Regions from separate parts of the Homo sapiens genome. Here region 1 is linked to region 2. Evidence: promoter capture Hi-C in human tissues and cell types (Jung and others, 2019). All regions are on one chromosome and are shown on one strand. The core of a region is centred on a gene start or on the middle of the fragment in contact, and the rest is flanking DNA. Distances in the headings are between cores, read along the strand shown. Region 1 holds the start of LINC01988 (long intergenic non-protein coding RNA 1988). Region 2 holds the start of ZNF445 (zinc finger protein 445).

Region 1 (7,382 bases), core at 3,317-5,816, 50 kb before region 2:
CTCTAAATAAATTAATAAATAAATAATAAATAAATGGGTGTTGTATCAAGCAGCCACACCTGTGGTCATTTGTAAGAATAAGTCATTTCCTGGTCAGGCGCAGTGGCTCACACCTGTAATCCCAGCACTTTGGGAGGCCAAGGCGGGTGGATCATGAGGTCAGGAGATTGAGACCATCCTGACTAACACGGTGAAACCTGTCTCTACTAAAAAAAAAACAAAAAAATTAGCCTGGCTTGGTGGCGGGGGCCTGTAGTCCCAGTTACTTGGGAGGCTGAGGCAGCAGAATGGCGTGAACCTGGGAGGCGGAGCTGGCAGTGAGGCGAGATCACGCCACTGCACTCCAGCCTGGGTGACAGAGTGAGACTCCGTCTCAAAAAAAAAAAAAAAAAGTCATTCATTTCCCATTCTTACAAATGGCCACAAAAGGAAACGCCTATGCCATGTGAACACGTTCTCAGAATAAGTACAGGAGGCAGCCTGCAAGTCTGGGCGACTCTTCCTACTTTCTTTCCATCAAATTCCTTCACCTTCTTTAGAACAGACACAATGACTGTCAATCCTGAGAAACTTCAAGGTGCGCTACCTAGAATATCAACCAGCTCAACCAGAAGCTGATCCTGACACCTGTGTCCTACAGGAAGTTCTGATTTGCTCAGGTGGAGAGGATTTCCCCAGCATCCCCTGGTGGCCACAAGGCCATGGGGGAGTCAGCACAACCTGCAGAGATCCCCTGGTTCAGGGTGGGTGGAAACAGGGGGTTCGGGGGCTGAACAGTTAGAGGCTGGCCAGGAGCTAGGGAACTGGATAGGTATGAAGGGTTTGAAGCTTACCTGTCGGAAGGTTCTGGGGTGGAGGAGTCTGTGGAGGGAGCTTCAGAGAGCAGGAGGGGCATTAGAAGGCTGGGGCCCCTGCAATCTAATCTTTGTTGTGTAATGCGTTTCCCGCCCTATCCCAGCCTAGCTTCTGCCTGGTGATCTCAGACCCCTGCAGGGCAGCTCCCCACTCACCCCTGCACCATCCTCGCTGTCACAGTGCCTGATGCCCCAAAACTGGAAGTGTGCCTGCCATTGCCTTTCCCTGCCTGGTTTCCAGCAGTCCCATCACATGGCTCCAAAAAACAGCATCGGGGTTTTTTTCTAGAACCCAAATTTATAAACAAGGGGCAATGTCCTCTGACAAGGTTGGTTTGTGCTCAGTATAATGGTAGCCAGGGCTACCTGGATCAGGAACATCTTGTGATCCCCTCCCTACTCCCCTGGGTCTGGCTTGCTGGGCCTCACACCCTCTTCACACCCTGGTCTCCCTGAGAATTAGATGCAGCTCCCCATGTCACCAGCTGCTTACTGGGACTGCCCAGCCCAGGCCCACCTTGAATCCTCACCACGTTCCCCACTCTATGGACCCAGCGGCTGCTGTGTGTCCCATGGAGCCAGCCCATGGTGCTGGCAGAAGATGGAACAGTCGTCCTCCTGGGCTGGCCCCAGGTCACCCAAGCAGGCTTTTCTCCTCTCCTCACCTGCCTGATGGTGCCCACCCGATGTGGGGCAGTCCACAGGGCTGCTGGAGCTTAGTGAGAAATGAATCCCTTCCCAGCCCCCAGGGGCTTGCCCAGCAGCCTTTCCCCATTGGTGCTAGTAGCCTTGGGCCTTCCCAGAGACTGCTGCAGGCCTGTCCGTAGCATGAGGCCATTGCTAAGGTGAAGGAGAAGCCTCTGTCCCCTCTTCCCTCCCTGGCTCAGCTCACCTGCTCTGGCAGTGTGCTTGGTGAGGCCAGGTGTGCTTCCTCCCTTCCTCCCCAGGGCCTCTCCACCTCGGTCCACACAGGGGCAGTTTCCCCAGGAAACTCTAACTCATTCCATTACCTTCCCCCAGCTGATCTTGGAAACCCCCTTGCTGTGAATATTGGCAAGCTTAAGAGCTTATTGCCCCCACCATGGCGTCCAGCTCTTGATCAGTGTGCTTTGAGGGCTTTGTCTTCCAAGCCTTGGACAACCCTGAATGCTGGTTAGTCTTTGGCTGGCTCCAAGACGCAGTGTCACACAAGTACCACCCTGTGGACACGCTGAAGTTCCCATGGAGTCTTTTCTATCGAAAACTCAGCCTCTTTCAGGCCAAACACCGGCTCCCTTCATGTGCATAGCTTTCTAACTGGTACAATTTCCCCAAAGATAATTTAGAATTATAGTGATCACTTTGGGGAAACTCTGATATATACAAAACAAAAACAAAGCAAAATTCTGAATATCCAATGGTCTGCTGTCTTTAATTGGTATGAGGAGGCTCCTAAACACAATTTGGACTCAAAAAATGCTTCTCTAAAATATTCTTTAGCTATAACTAATATGAAATAGGAGCATCTTTTCCCTCATGTGCATCTTTTTTTTCTTTTTTCTTTTCTTTTTTTTTTTTTTGAGATGGAGTCTCACTCTGTTGCCCAGGCTGGAGTGCAATGGCACCATCTCAGCTCACTGCAAACTCCTTCTCCCAGGTTCAAGTGATTCTCCCGCCTCAGCCTCCTGAGTAGCTGGGATTACAGGCCTGTGCTACCACGCCCAACTAATTTTTGTATTTTTAGTAGAGATGGAGTTTCACGATGTTGGCTAGGCTGGTCTCAAACTTCTGACTTCAAGTGATCCACCCACCTCAGCCTCCCAAAGTGCTAGGATTACAGGCATGAGCCACCGTGCCCGACCAAGCATCTTTAAAATGTTGACATTTCCAATGCCCTTGCCACATTTTGTGAAAGGCTTCAGGTCCAAAACTGTCACTATGTTGGGTAAACAAAAATGTTGGCTGGCAAATCACTCTATTGCATAAACATCAATATTTGGCTAAACATTTTTTTTTTTTTGAGATGGAGTCTCGCTCTGTCACCCAGGCTGGAGTGCAGTGGCGTGATCTCAGCTCACTGCAAGCTCTGCCTCCCCGGGTTCACACCATTCTCCTGCCTCAGCCTCCCAAGTAGCTGGGGTTACATGCGCCCGCCACCATGCCCGGCTAATTTTTTTTGTATTTTTAGCTAAGACAGGGCTTTACCATGTTACCCAGGATGGTCTTGATCTTCTGACCTCATGATCCACCGGCCTTGGCCTCCCAAAGTGCTGGGATTACAGGCATGAGCCACTGCACCTGGGCTTGGCTAAACATTTTAAGGAGACTCTGGATATCAAGAATAAAAGACCCCTCATGAGGAAAATCTTTGTCTTGTTTGCCTAAATGACAGATCATTTTGTTTCACAGGGAGGCATCACTTCCTTCCTTTCCATAAGTTGGAGATTAATACATTCTGGCTTTTAAAAAATTGTATGGCTTGATAGAATTGTCACAAACTGAAATTATGTCAAAACCAGATATAGGACACTCTCGTGTGTGTATTGTATATATGTCTAAACTTTCATCCCTCTTCTTACAGAGAAAAATGATTAGTTATTTGTCTAAAGCCAGCTCCCTCTCATTTTTTTTCTATCCCATTTCCTCTCCTTTTCCCTCTTTTGAAAACTTAACAAAATGAAAGACTTAACAAAAATTACATTCAGCCGTTATGCATATATTCTAGGAATTTTTAGTTCAGGTAAAGTCTAAATTGTCTAAAGAAAAAAGTTATTGAACTATTTTTTATGGACACTAGAAAATGTATTTCCCTGATAACCTTTTAAACTAGCTATGACAAAAGAAAAGACGCCAACTTCAAAATAAAGGAAAATGTTAGCATGATTCACTCCTTATTAGTTTATTTTTTTAAAAAATGTTAGTACAATATTTTGGCTTATTCCAGACCAAAATTAGATTTCTTATAATTCAAACTTCCTAAATTTCCTACATTAATTTTATTTATTTATTTATTTTTGAGATGGAGCCTCACTCTGTCCCCAGGCTGGAGTGCAGTGGCACAATCTCGGCTCACAGCAACCTCCACCTCTCAGGTTCAAGCGATTCTCCTGTCTCAGCCTCCCGAGTAGCTGGGATTACAGGTGTGTGCCACCATGCCCAGCTAATTTTTTGTATTTTTAGTAGAGATGGGTTTTCACCATGTTGGCCAGGCTAGTCTCAAACTCTCGACCTCAGGTGATCCACCCGCCTCGGCCTCCCAAAATGCTGGGATTACAGGCATGAGCCACAGCGCCCGGCCCACATTTATTTTGTAAATGAAATGTTTTCATCATTTCCATAACTTATTTAAAATAAAAAATTTTGACCGGGTATGGTGGCTCACATCTGTAATCCCAGCACTTTGGGAGGCCAAAGCAGGTGGATCACTTCAGGCCAGGAGTTAGAGACCAGCCTGGCCGACATAGTGAAACCCCATCTCTACACCAAAAATACAAAACTTAGCTGGGCGTGGAGGCACACGCCTGTAGTTCCAGCTACTCGGGAGGCTGAGGCACAAGAATCGCTTGAACCCAGGAGGCGGAGGCTTCAGTGAGCCGAGATCATGCCATTGCACTCCAGCCTGGATGACAGAGCGAGACCCTTTCTCAAAAATAAATAAATAAAGTAAAATAACAGATATAAATTCACCCTTGAAATATAGAGCACTCTCAAAAACTGAATTGACTTGACTCTCCCAGAAATCGAAGCTCATATGACTAAAATAATTGCCCTCACCCAGGCATGCCAACTTGTGAAAGTGAAGTATGTAGTTATGCTGGTAGTAAAGGGGCTTTTGTCCACAAATTCAGAGTGCTTAGAGAACCCCAGGGGAGGAGCTCAGTGGGTGGAGTCTCCAGAGATTTGCCTTGGAGGCTGTTGGGACAGCAGGAGTGAGTGCTGTGATTGGCTGGGACCTCGATGTCACAAAGGTCAGGGACAGCTGCCAGAGAATGAAGCAGAGGGCTGTGGGGTGAAGGGACTGCCAGTCTTCTGCCACTCCTTTTCGTGGTCCTTCCCTTCACTGCCTTCCTTCTCCCAGACAGACTGGGCATCCAGTTCCAATCCAAAGGCTGCCCCTTTGACCAGGCCCATCTTCTCCACCTCACATCAGACAGCCAATCGGCTGCCCAGACCTCGAAACCTCAGTAACCTAGAAGGTAAGGACTTTCAGATTTCACCAGGAAGGATTATCCCTTCATGCCTTATAAAAGTAACAGAACCGGTCGGGCACAGTGGCTCATGCCTGTAATCCCAGCACTTTGGGAGGCCAAGGCAGATGGATCACCTGAGATCAGGAGTTTGAGACCAGCCTGGCCAACATGGTGAAACCCCCTCTCTACTAAAAATACAAAAAATTAGCCAGTCATGGTGGCACACGCCTGTAGTCCTAGCTACTTGGGAGGCTGAGGCAGGAGAATCACTTGAACCAGGGAGGCGGAGGTTGCAGTGAGCCAAGACCTCATCATTGCACTCCAGCCTGGGCAGCAAGAGTGAAACTCTGTCTCAAAAAATAAATAAATAAATAAAAACTAATAGAACCTATCAATTCATAGGAAATGGACCTTGGCAAACGTGTGTCAGGAGAGGATGACTTGGAGGTGTCCACCGTGTTTCTTACTGAAGGTTTGTTCAAACCTAGAAATTCACTTGGGACAGCTTATGAGCCCTCTCCTATTCTTGGGAAAGCTTTTAAATTGTCTGACAAAGTCTGTACCCCTGGAGCATGGGTTAGTTTGTTGAAGTCCACAGACCACACAGTTTCTTTGAAGGTGTGCAGCATGAGGGTGAGTTCCTCTATTGCCCACTGATGGAGAACTCACTTAGGCTGTCTTTTCTCTCCTTCAGATGTCTAAAAGTCAATTGGGGTCAAGGAACAAGCCTCTACTCACATGCATGTGGGCAAATGAAGTCACAGAACAAATAACCTACCCTGCATCCAGGTTAGATCCTCCTGCACCATTTCCTGCTTCTCTGCGGATCCTGCAATGTGGACCCCTGTCTGGATGTGGTGCTGGGGAGGTGGCTCCTCCCTGTCCCAGAGGCCCATCTCGTGTTCCCACACAGGCACGGAGTCCAGGGACACCCCCTGCTGCTGCCTAAGAGAAAGTGGCCCAAGAAGCACTGGCCCGGTGCCTGCTGATGCCAGGAGCCCTCTGCTACTGCCTGACACAAGCATCCTGCGCTTCCCCCTCCCAGGCCCTCCCCGAAAGCGTGGGCCACAGGTACCACTCCCTATGCCACTGAGCCCCACATTTCCCATCCCCCAAGCCACTCCCACCAGCCCCAGAGCTTTCCTACATTTATGATTTGTCCAAAAATGTGATGCCCTTCAGCCCCCAGAAGGTCATCCTCCAGGCTGTGATCGTCACACAGGGGGTCCCACATGGGGTCCTCACAGGCCTTCAACCCAGCACAAATCGTGGCCTGGTTTGACCTTTGAAATATCTCAACATCTAAAATTCAGAGCTTTTTTGGAATATTTATTTTCCATAGATATAATTCTTTCAAATAAATTCCTTAGAAAACAATATCCAGTGTTTCATTATTTGTGCTAACATGTGCTTTTCCCATTTTGGAGATGAAAAATATCATTAGAAATAAAAACTCAAGGGACAGATTAAACATCAGATAAGATGCAGTTAGCAGGCCGGGCGCAGTAAAGGTTGCAGTGAGCTGAGATCGCGCCACTCCAGCCTGGGCGACAGAGCAAAACTCCATCACCCACGCACAAAAAAGATAAGATGCAGGTAGCAGAGGGGCCAAGTGAACTCAAACAAGATCTGAAGTGCAATCTTCCTTAAGGAGTCCAGAGATGGGTGACAGGACATTTGAAGGAAAAGTTCCAACAGAGCACAGACAGGCTCTAGGAGATCACACAGGGAAAGGGGAGGCTACATCCAAGAGATAAAGCTGAGAATTTCCCAAAATTGATGGAAAACAGGAATTCTCAGAGTGAGGGATGCCACTGAATCCCACAGAGGATAATTGAAAACATCCACACTTAGTTACATTGTAGCAAAAGCATGAAACACTGAAGATAAACCTTGAAAGCTGCTAGGGAAAATATCTGATGAATTGAAATTAAAAATGATAAAATTTAATGAAATAGTATCATTAACATACTGAAAAAAATCAGACATCTCAGATTTGTACGTTCAGCTAATTATTCAACAATTAGGGAACTATGAAGACTTTCAAGATAAAAAGTTTACCATGAGCAGACCTGGACTACAGGAATGTCTTGCTAAAGAACGGTTTTGGTCTGGGCACTGTGGCTCATGCCTGTAATTCCAGCATTTTGGGAGGCCGAGACAGAAGCAACACTTGAGGCCAGGAGTTCAAACCAGCCTAGCAAGACCCCCATCTCTACATAAAAGTTTTTAAAAAATTAGCTGGGTGTGGTGTTACGCACCTGTAGCCCTAGCTATTCAGGAGGCTAAGGTGGGAGGATCACTTGAGGCTAGGAGTTTGAGGCTGCAGTGAGTTAGGATAGCACCACTGCACTTCAGC
Region 2 (7,196 bases), core at 966-3,465:
CTCCCAAAGTGCTGGGATTACAGGCATGAGCCACCATGCTCAGCCAGGTATTAAAGATTAACTTGGTAAGTGGCTCTTAAAAATCGAGGACATTTAATACTGTCAATTTTTATCTACCAATTTGGATTCCTTCTTTCATTAATTTGTCATATATTTATTGAGAACCTACTGTATGTTCCAGTACTGCCTTGAGGCGTCTATGAGGAGACAGATTCGTGGTATGCTAAACAGTGACAGCTGCTACATAGTAATATAAAACAAGAGGCGGGCACGGTGGCTCACGCCTGTAATCCCAGCATTTTGGGAGGCTGAGGCAGGCAGATCACCTGAGGTCGGGAGTTCGAGACCAGCCTGACCAATACGGTGAAACCCCGTCTTTACTTAAAATACAAAAATTAGCTGGGCGTGGTGGCACACACCTGTAATCCCAGCTACTTGGGAGGCTGAGGCAGGAGAATCACTTGAACCCAGGAGGCGGAGGCTGCAGTGAGCCGAGTTTGCACCACTGCACTCCAGCCTGGGCAACAAGAGTGAAACTCCGTCTCAAAAATAAAATAAATAAAATAAACAAGGAAAAAGAAAATAAATTTAAGAATAGGAAGGAAAAAAAGAAATTCATAAATTCAATCTTACAGAACACCTAACAATTCGCCTGAGAGTCACAGAAATGTACTCTTTCACATTGTTTCTAATACAAAATCTTGAAAATTGCAAAATACAGTGTTATGTTTTACTATAGTTTACTCTCTGACATCGTAGACTGCTTATGCACTAATTCTTCCTGGATACCGGAAGCCAGAGAAAACCTAGCGGTGGAATACTTGCCATTTTTCATGCTTTTTGTCAGTTTCCTTTTTAAGTGCATACTGAGGTTTATCTTCAAAACATTCTCATCTTTTCGGCTTACAGTAAGACTTTTTTTTTTTTCTAACCAAAATGTGTCTGCCTTTCATTAAGATAACATAAAAGAGCAGCCTAATTCTTTGGTCCCTGAATATGCACACACATGCATGCACACACACACACGCAGACACACACACAACACATGGAGGCTCTCTGAAACTGCTTAATCAAATTACTGCTCAAACCACTCCCTGGCACTTCCTTGCAAAACAACCAACCTAATACTGAGTTTTTAGTTTTGCACTACAAGCCGTTTGAAACAGAATAACATTCTTTCCTGGCCACCACTTTTAAATTCGGAAGGAGACAATACTCTGATCTCTTAGGCCTGTGCAAGTCAGAGTGTGCTACAATCGCTGCAGGTTAGAGCTCTGCCTTTGTTTAAAAACTGCATTTTATATACTAGTTACTTCATTGTGAAAGATAACCACCCTGACAAACAAGATTTTGCTATTTTTCTGCACAAATGTCACTTCACCATTTAGAGCTTCATGCAAATGTGTCTCCTACAGAAAATAAACTGCAAACACGATTTCTTAATTATCCTCGCCAAAAAAAAAATGTTTTAGTGGTGTCATAATGCCAGCACTAATTTTAGCCAAAATAAGAACAAATGCATTCTACAAATTCAGGAGATTATAATTTTTAAAAAGCAGTAGTATGGATATACTTAATGTCACTGAATTACACACTTCCAAATGGTTAAATGGTAAACGTTTATGTATTGTATGGTAAATGTTATGTGTTATTTTGGCACAATATTGTTTCCTCACAATAATACTAACAGGTTTTTTAAAAAGCAAGAGCACGCTCTCATTTCGTAATATATATTTATGGATGTCAGTGTGCAGAATTATGCACAGATATTTTAAATGTCAGGAGGCCTGGAGACAGATTTCAGGATTGCGGCTACTTTTACTTTTCTTCTACTTTCCCGTGTTATCTAATTGTCTCTGATAAATACGCTTTATATGCAGAATTGGATGAAACGAGAAAGCCCGGAGAAACCCGGGCTCCAGATTCTCTACCCCGGACGCCTGGGAGGCAAAGAGGTTCTAGATACGCCCTCAGCGTGGCGGGGGCGGGATCCACCGCCAGACCCCCGCCACGGGCGCAGCCTCCAGGCCGGGCCCCGTCCGCCGCCCGGGCAGGCCCGAGAATGCCGCGGACTTCGGGGAGCCCCGCGCCCGCAATGCCGCCACCCCCACCCCCGCGCCCCGCCAGGCCTCTCACCGACTCCCGCCGCCGAGCGACAATCGGTCCACCCGCCGCCACCGCAGCCGCCCGTCCCGCGCCTACCTCCCGGCGGCTCCAGTCGCGCACGCGCGTCGGCGCCCGGGGCCCTCCGCGGCCTCTCTAGGAAACTGGGAGGCCCAACGTCTCTGCTTCTCTCCGGCTCCGGTGCGGCGGGCGGCGGGGCTTGTCCAACATCCCTCACCTCCCTCAGTTGGACATTTCCCTTCCACGCTCGGATGCCCAGCCGCGCCTGTTTTCTTGCATCCCTCCTGTCGTGTCTGCGGGGCTGCCCTGAAGGCCTCTTTCCCTCCAGGGAAGAAAGGGATCCAAAGCTAGGGGTGAAAATAGGGCCAGCAGTATCTAGCAGACTGGTCCTGGCCAGGAGAAGGGGTTAAGGGAGCCACTCATTCTTCGCCTGGGTACACTTCAAAGAGGGGAACCAGATCCTACGGGAAGCTAGGTGCCAGAACTCCTGCCTTTCCAAGACGAGCTCATCCCCATCATCACCATACCCAGGAATACTTGTTCATAGCCAGCTCAGAGGTGCACCATACTTTAGCTTCCCACGGCCTTCACTCGTTTTCTCCTGTGGGTGAATTCTAACTAGGCTCGCCTGGTGAGTGAACAATGATGCCATTGCCCAATAATATGTGGAATCTGGGAGGAGTAGGTTGGGGGTAGGGGGTGGAGGGGCTGCTTGAAGAGGAGGTGAAGCAACCTGGAGAGGTTGCCCACCCCCTGTAGGAGCAAATGTCATCTATTGCCAGTGCCAGAGAACCTTGAGGGTGCACAGCCAAAGCCATAAGGCCATCTGCTGCCATTGGAGGGCATGCTACAAGCTGCTGTCCTGGTAGTCCTCTGGTTTGTGCTTCCTAGTGGCAGGCTGCAACATGTTGACGATTGATCTTTCAGATGGGCATTGATGATGCCCATCTGTGCCCTGAGGCTTTGCTTTACTCATCTGATCCACCCCTTTTTAATGCCCCAGTCACCAAAGATGGAAACAGAGAATAGATCCTGAACACCAGGAAGATGGTGACAAGGTGATAGAGAAACAGATGGCACATTCAAACAAGGTAAGTGGGGAGAGTTCACAAGGGGCGATTTACACAAAGTGGACAGGGTTAAGGAAATGCAACACGGAGTGGTGCAGAATCCCATGGCTAGCAAAATTTAGAAGCTATTCTCACCCCTAGGAGCAGGCCATCTGAGAGAAACTGTGGCTTTCAGTTGAGGGCTACATCCAAGCCATAGTCCAGCACAAAGGAAGCTGAGGTAATAAATAACCTGAACCCAGCTCTCTTCTGATCTCCTGCCAGGGCTTCCCATTGGCCCAACTCAACTGGAAGCCAGAGGGCAATCCAGGAAACTCAGTCTCCCAAGTGTCACAGCAGGGTTGAGGACTGAGACTGAATATGGAGGGGCAATTGGAAAATATCCAACACATACAAAAAGGAAAATAGAAACTGCTTGTCAATGCCTAATTTGTCCATTAATTTCCACTCGATATAATGTTCTTGAGTGACTCAGAACCACCCATAGTGGTGAGAAGAGTTTTCAAGTTTTGTTTGAGAACAAAATTTTCCCATCGTAGAAGAGTTTGAGCAGGTTCTCTGTGTTTGGGATGTACTTACTGGATGTTTTTCAACGTGATAGGTGGTTAGCATGGATAGCACCCACATTTAGTGTGATCAAACAGATCAACCAAATTGGCTTCACCAGCACTTGCAAAGTTCGGGAAGCAGCCACTGGGAGTGCAGCTCTGATTTTAAGACCTATACAGCTTCTTGAATCTCGAAGTTCTGCTAATACCTGATTTCTCCGAGTGCCACAGCACTCGAGCCTATAACCATGAGGTTTCTTCACTTTTCTGGTAGGAGGCATATTCTTGCTAGCTGTACTTCCTGAGCACTGTACTCTTTCAGATCGGGGCAGTTTGCTTAGTAAAAGCCCTAGGTAAGATTCTCAAATTCTCATGTGCATATGAATACAAATCACTTGGGATCTGGTTAAACTGTAGATTCAAATTCAGGAGGTCTGGGGAGGGACCAACGAATATTTTTAACAAACTTCCAGGTGTACCCATATTGCAGTTCTTGGACCACACTTGGAGAAGCAAAGAACTGTGCATGTAAATCAGTGGTTCTTAACTTTGCTGCAGATTAGAATCCTCCTCAGAGCTTTTAAAAAGTCCATACCTCATATCAATTCAATCCAAATCTTTGTGGGTGAGACACTGACAAGCCTAGATTTTAAAATCCCTAGATGATTCCAACATTTGAGAACCTGGAAGTAGATAATTATCCTTTTACCCTGATTCCTTGCTACATGTAAAAACCACATGCTAAAGGATTGCATGTTCATTTGCTTCTTTGTTTTGGAATTTAAAGTGTATCAGGATTCTGCCTTTCAAACAGAAGGGGGAAATTTCCTCCTTAATTTTTTTCTTCTTATTTTGAAATGGGGAAGAAAAAATTGGGGTGTTGAGATGGGGATCTGGAATGTGACTTGAGAAAAGAGATAAGATGTTAAAACTAAGAATCAGTTGTGGGCAAACAAATTGGCCTGGTAGGATTTTCACTCCTTTTCTGGCCTCAAACTCAGCCCCTTCTCTGTAGTTTGAAGGAGGCAGGTTGAAATATTAGGATGAAAATAAAATAGAGCAATGTATCTGAGGATGGTGATTACTGTGATCCATTGGATTAGTGTACTCTTCTATAAGAAAAACATAAAACAAATGTTTAAGCAGTTAAATTATGTGTAATTGTGGCCATTTGAAATATATTACATATTATATCATATAATTAATCTTCTCTGAATTCCCCCTTCTGCCTCTAATTCTAAGATATTGAAAAATACATTTTAATGAGATTTTAGAAGGTGATCCAACTTTAAATGAATTTTAAAATTATCATTTATATCAAAGAAATACTGATGCATTTAGTACTAATGAAGGACTTAAAATGAAAAATTGAACTCAACTCCCTCCTCCACCCTCCATCTTTTTCTGCAGAGGATATTCCTTGCATCTGAACATAAAAGTAGAGAAAGAGAGAGGATCAGGAAGCCAGGAGAGAATATACACGAATTTAAACTTTATTGGTAGTGGAGGGGGTGAAAGAATCTTTGAGTCAGACCATAGCCATGAGGAAGAAAAACTATGGAATCTTTGCTTTTATGCATTGCTATACCTCAAGTACTTAGAACAGCACTGACTACATAGTATGTACTCAATAAACATTTGTTGACTAATCAATCTTCTCTATGTCTAACCCAGGCCCTTAGGAGGTCTCTATTGTGATAATAGCCAAATCCTCAAACAGGCCAGATTTAGCTGGCATGATAACGAAGGCCCCTCCGCTTTAATCCTTACAAGGAAAGTAATCTGAAATAACTAATGCCAACCAGTCTGCCTTTGGTTCCCTATTTTTGCTTTCTTTGGCCTTTTTCTGCTTATAAAGCCAATCTCCTCTGTTCAGCTTATCAGAATACCCGTTCTATTTTATAGAATGAGATGTTGCCCGAATCTAGAATCACTAACAAAACCTAATTTGGTCTTTATTATTTATTTATTTATTTATTTATTTATTTTTGAGACGGAGTCTCACTCTGTCACCAGGCTGGAGTGCAGTGGCACGATCTCAGCTCACTGCAACCTCTGCCTCCTGGGTTCAAGTGATTCTCTTGCCTCAGCCTCCTGAGTAGCTGAGATTACAGGCGCCCACCACCACACCCAGCTAATTTTTGTATTTTTAGTAGAGACAGGGTTTCACCATGTTGGCCAGGCTGGCCTTGAACTCCTGATCTCAGGTGATCCACACACCTCAGCTTCCCAAAGTGCTGGGATTACAGGCGTGAGCCGCTGCACCTGGCCTAATTTAGTCTTCAAACTAAATTTGTCGTAATTTCATCTTTTGACAACTGCTTCTGTCCTGCCTTTTTTTCACTTGCCATTCTAATGTCAAGTGTTTTTTATCACATCACTAAATAATCTTCAAAATTTTATTTTTCCTCAGGGCCCTGAAGTGATCCTCCTCCTGTTCACTGACACCCGTTGCCAAGAGAGAGAGAGAAAAAGAGAGAGAGAGAGAAGCAGGAAGAGAGGAGAGGGTGCTGGCCTTATTAGAGAAAGAATGTAAGGGGAAAGAAAACAATCATGTTAGCTTTGATTTCTGTAATAAGTCTGTATCACAGACAGGCTTAGAAAGCAAAGCTTTGGCATTACAAGAGCCCATGAGGGAGCAAAGCTCTCTTATAGAAAGTCTGAGGCCAGGCACAGTGGCTCACATCTGTAATCCCAGCAATTTGGGAGGCCGAGGCGGGCGGATCACGAGGTCAGGAGATCGAGACCATCCTGGCTAACACGGTGAAACCCCGTCTCTACTAAAAATACAAAAAAATTAGCTGGGCGTGGTGGCGGGCGCCTGTAGTCCCAGCTACTCGGGAGGCTGAAGCAGGAGAATGGCGTGAACCCGGGAGGCGGAGCTTGCAGTGAGCTGAGATCACGCCACTGCACTCCAGCCTGGGCGGCAGAGCAAGACTCCGTCTCAAAAAAAAAAAAAAAAAGAAAAGAAAAAAAAGAAAGTCTGGAGGTGGAAGTTCCGAGACTTGACACAACTAATAGAATTAGTTCATGATGTGTTATCATTCCAATGGCACCAACAACTCACTCACCACCTGTGCCCCAGGCAAACCTGCTCCTCCTGCTTTCCTTATTCTCTATCTGAAGAAAGAAATAGGAAGTGTCAGTATGGGTACTAGAAGCCACATCTATCTATACTCATTAATTCTTTCATTCACAAAGAATTTATTGATTATGCACTATGTGCTAGATACTGTTCCCGACCTGGGGTATATCAGTTACCAGGTGTCAAGCAACTGACACCTGTTTCCACCTCCAACAGAGAAGTCCCACTGGGTAGAGGACAGCAGAGCATAAAAATGAGTACCACCAAAACCAGCAGTCCTACGATGTTAAGCCACTGCAGGGTTTGAAGGTTTGGGGGTTGTCAAGAAAGACAAGACTTACACAAGCACTGGATGGAACATTTTACTCA

Evidence for each region. The method cuts DNA at HindIII sites, captures the fragments that hold promoters and counts their contacts. A contact is called where the count stands out against the background at its distance.
Region 1: a contact is called between a fragment that was not itself captured here and the fragment with the promoter of ZNF445 in region 2, in 2 of the 25 tissues and cell types used here (pancreas and spleen).

The regions. Positions count from the first base shown.
Region 1 is chr3:44,423,130-44,430,511 of GRCh38, forward strand. LINC01988 (long intergenic non-protein coding RNA 1988) reads left to right here and starts at 4,793. Exons shown (of 4, transcript NR_144436.1): 1 at 4,793-5,029; 2 at 5,426-5,495; 3 at 5,718-5,812; 4 at 5,937-6,400. It also overlaps the pseudogene C3orf86P. RefSeq lists an enhancer at 1,715-1,854. The HindIII fragment of the contact is 6,393 bases long and covers 1,371-7,382 here.
Region 2 is chr3:44,475,455-44,482,650 of GRCh38, forward strand. It overlaps ZNF445 (zinc finger protein 445), which reads right to left and starts at 2,216. Exons shown (of 8, transcript NM_181489.6): 1 at 2,137-2,216. LOC101928529 (a long non-coding RNA gene) reads left to right here and starts at 2,236. Exons shown (of 4, transcript XR_940785.4): 1 at 2,236-2,755; 2 at 3,128-3,215; 3 at 6,156-6,274. RefSeq lists silencers at 1,964-2,013, 2,034-2,193. The HindIII fragment of the contact is 14,864 bases long and covers 1-7,196 here.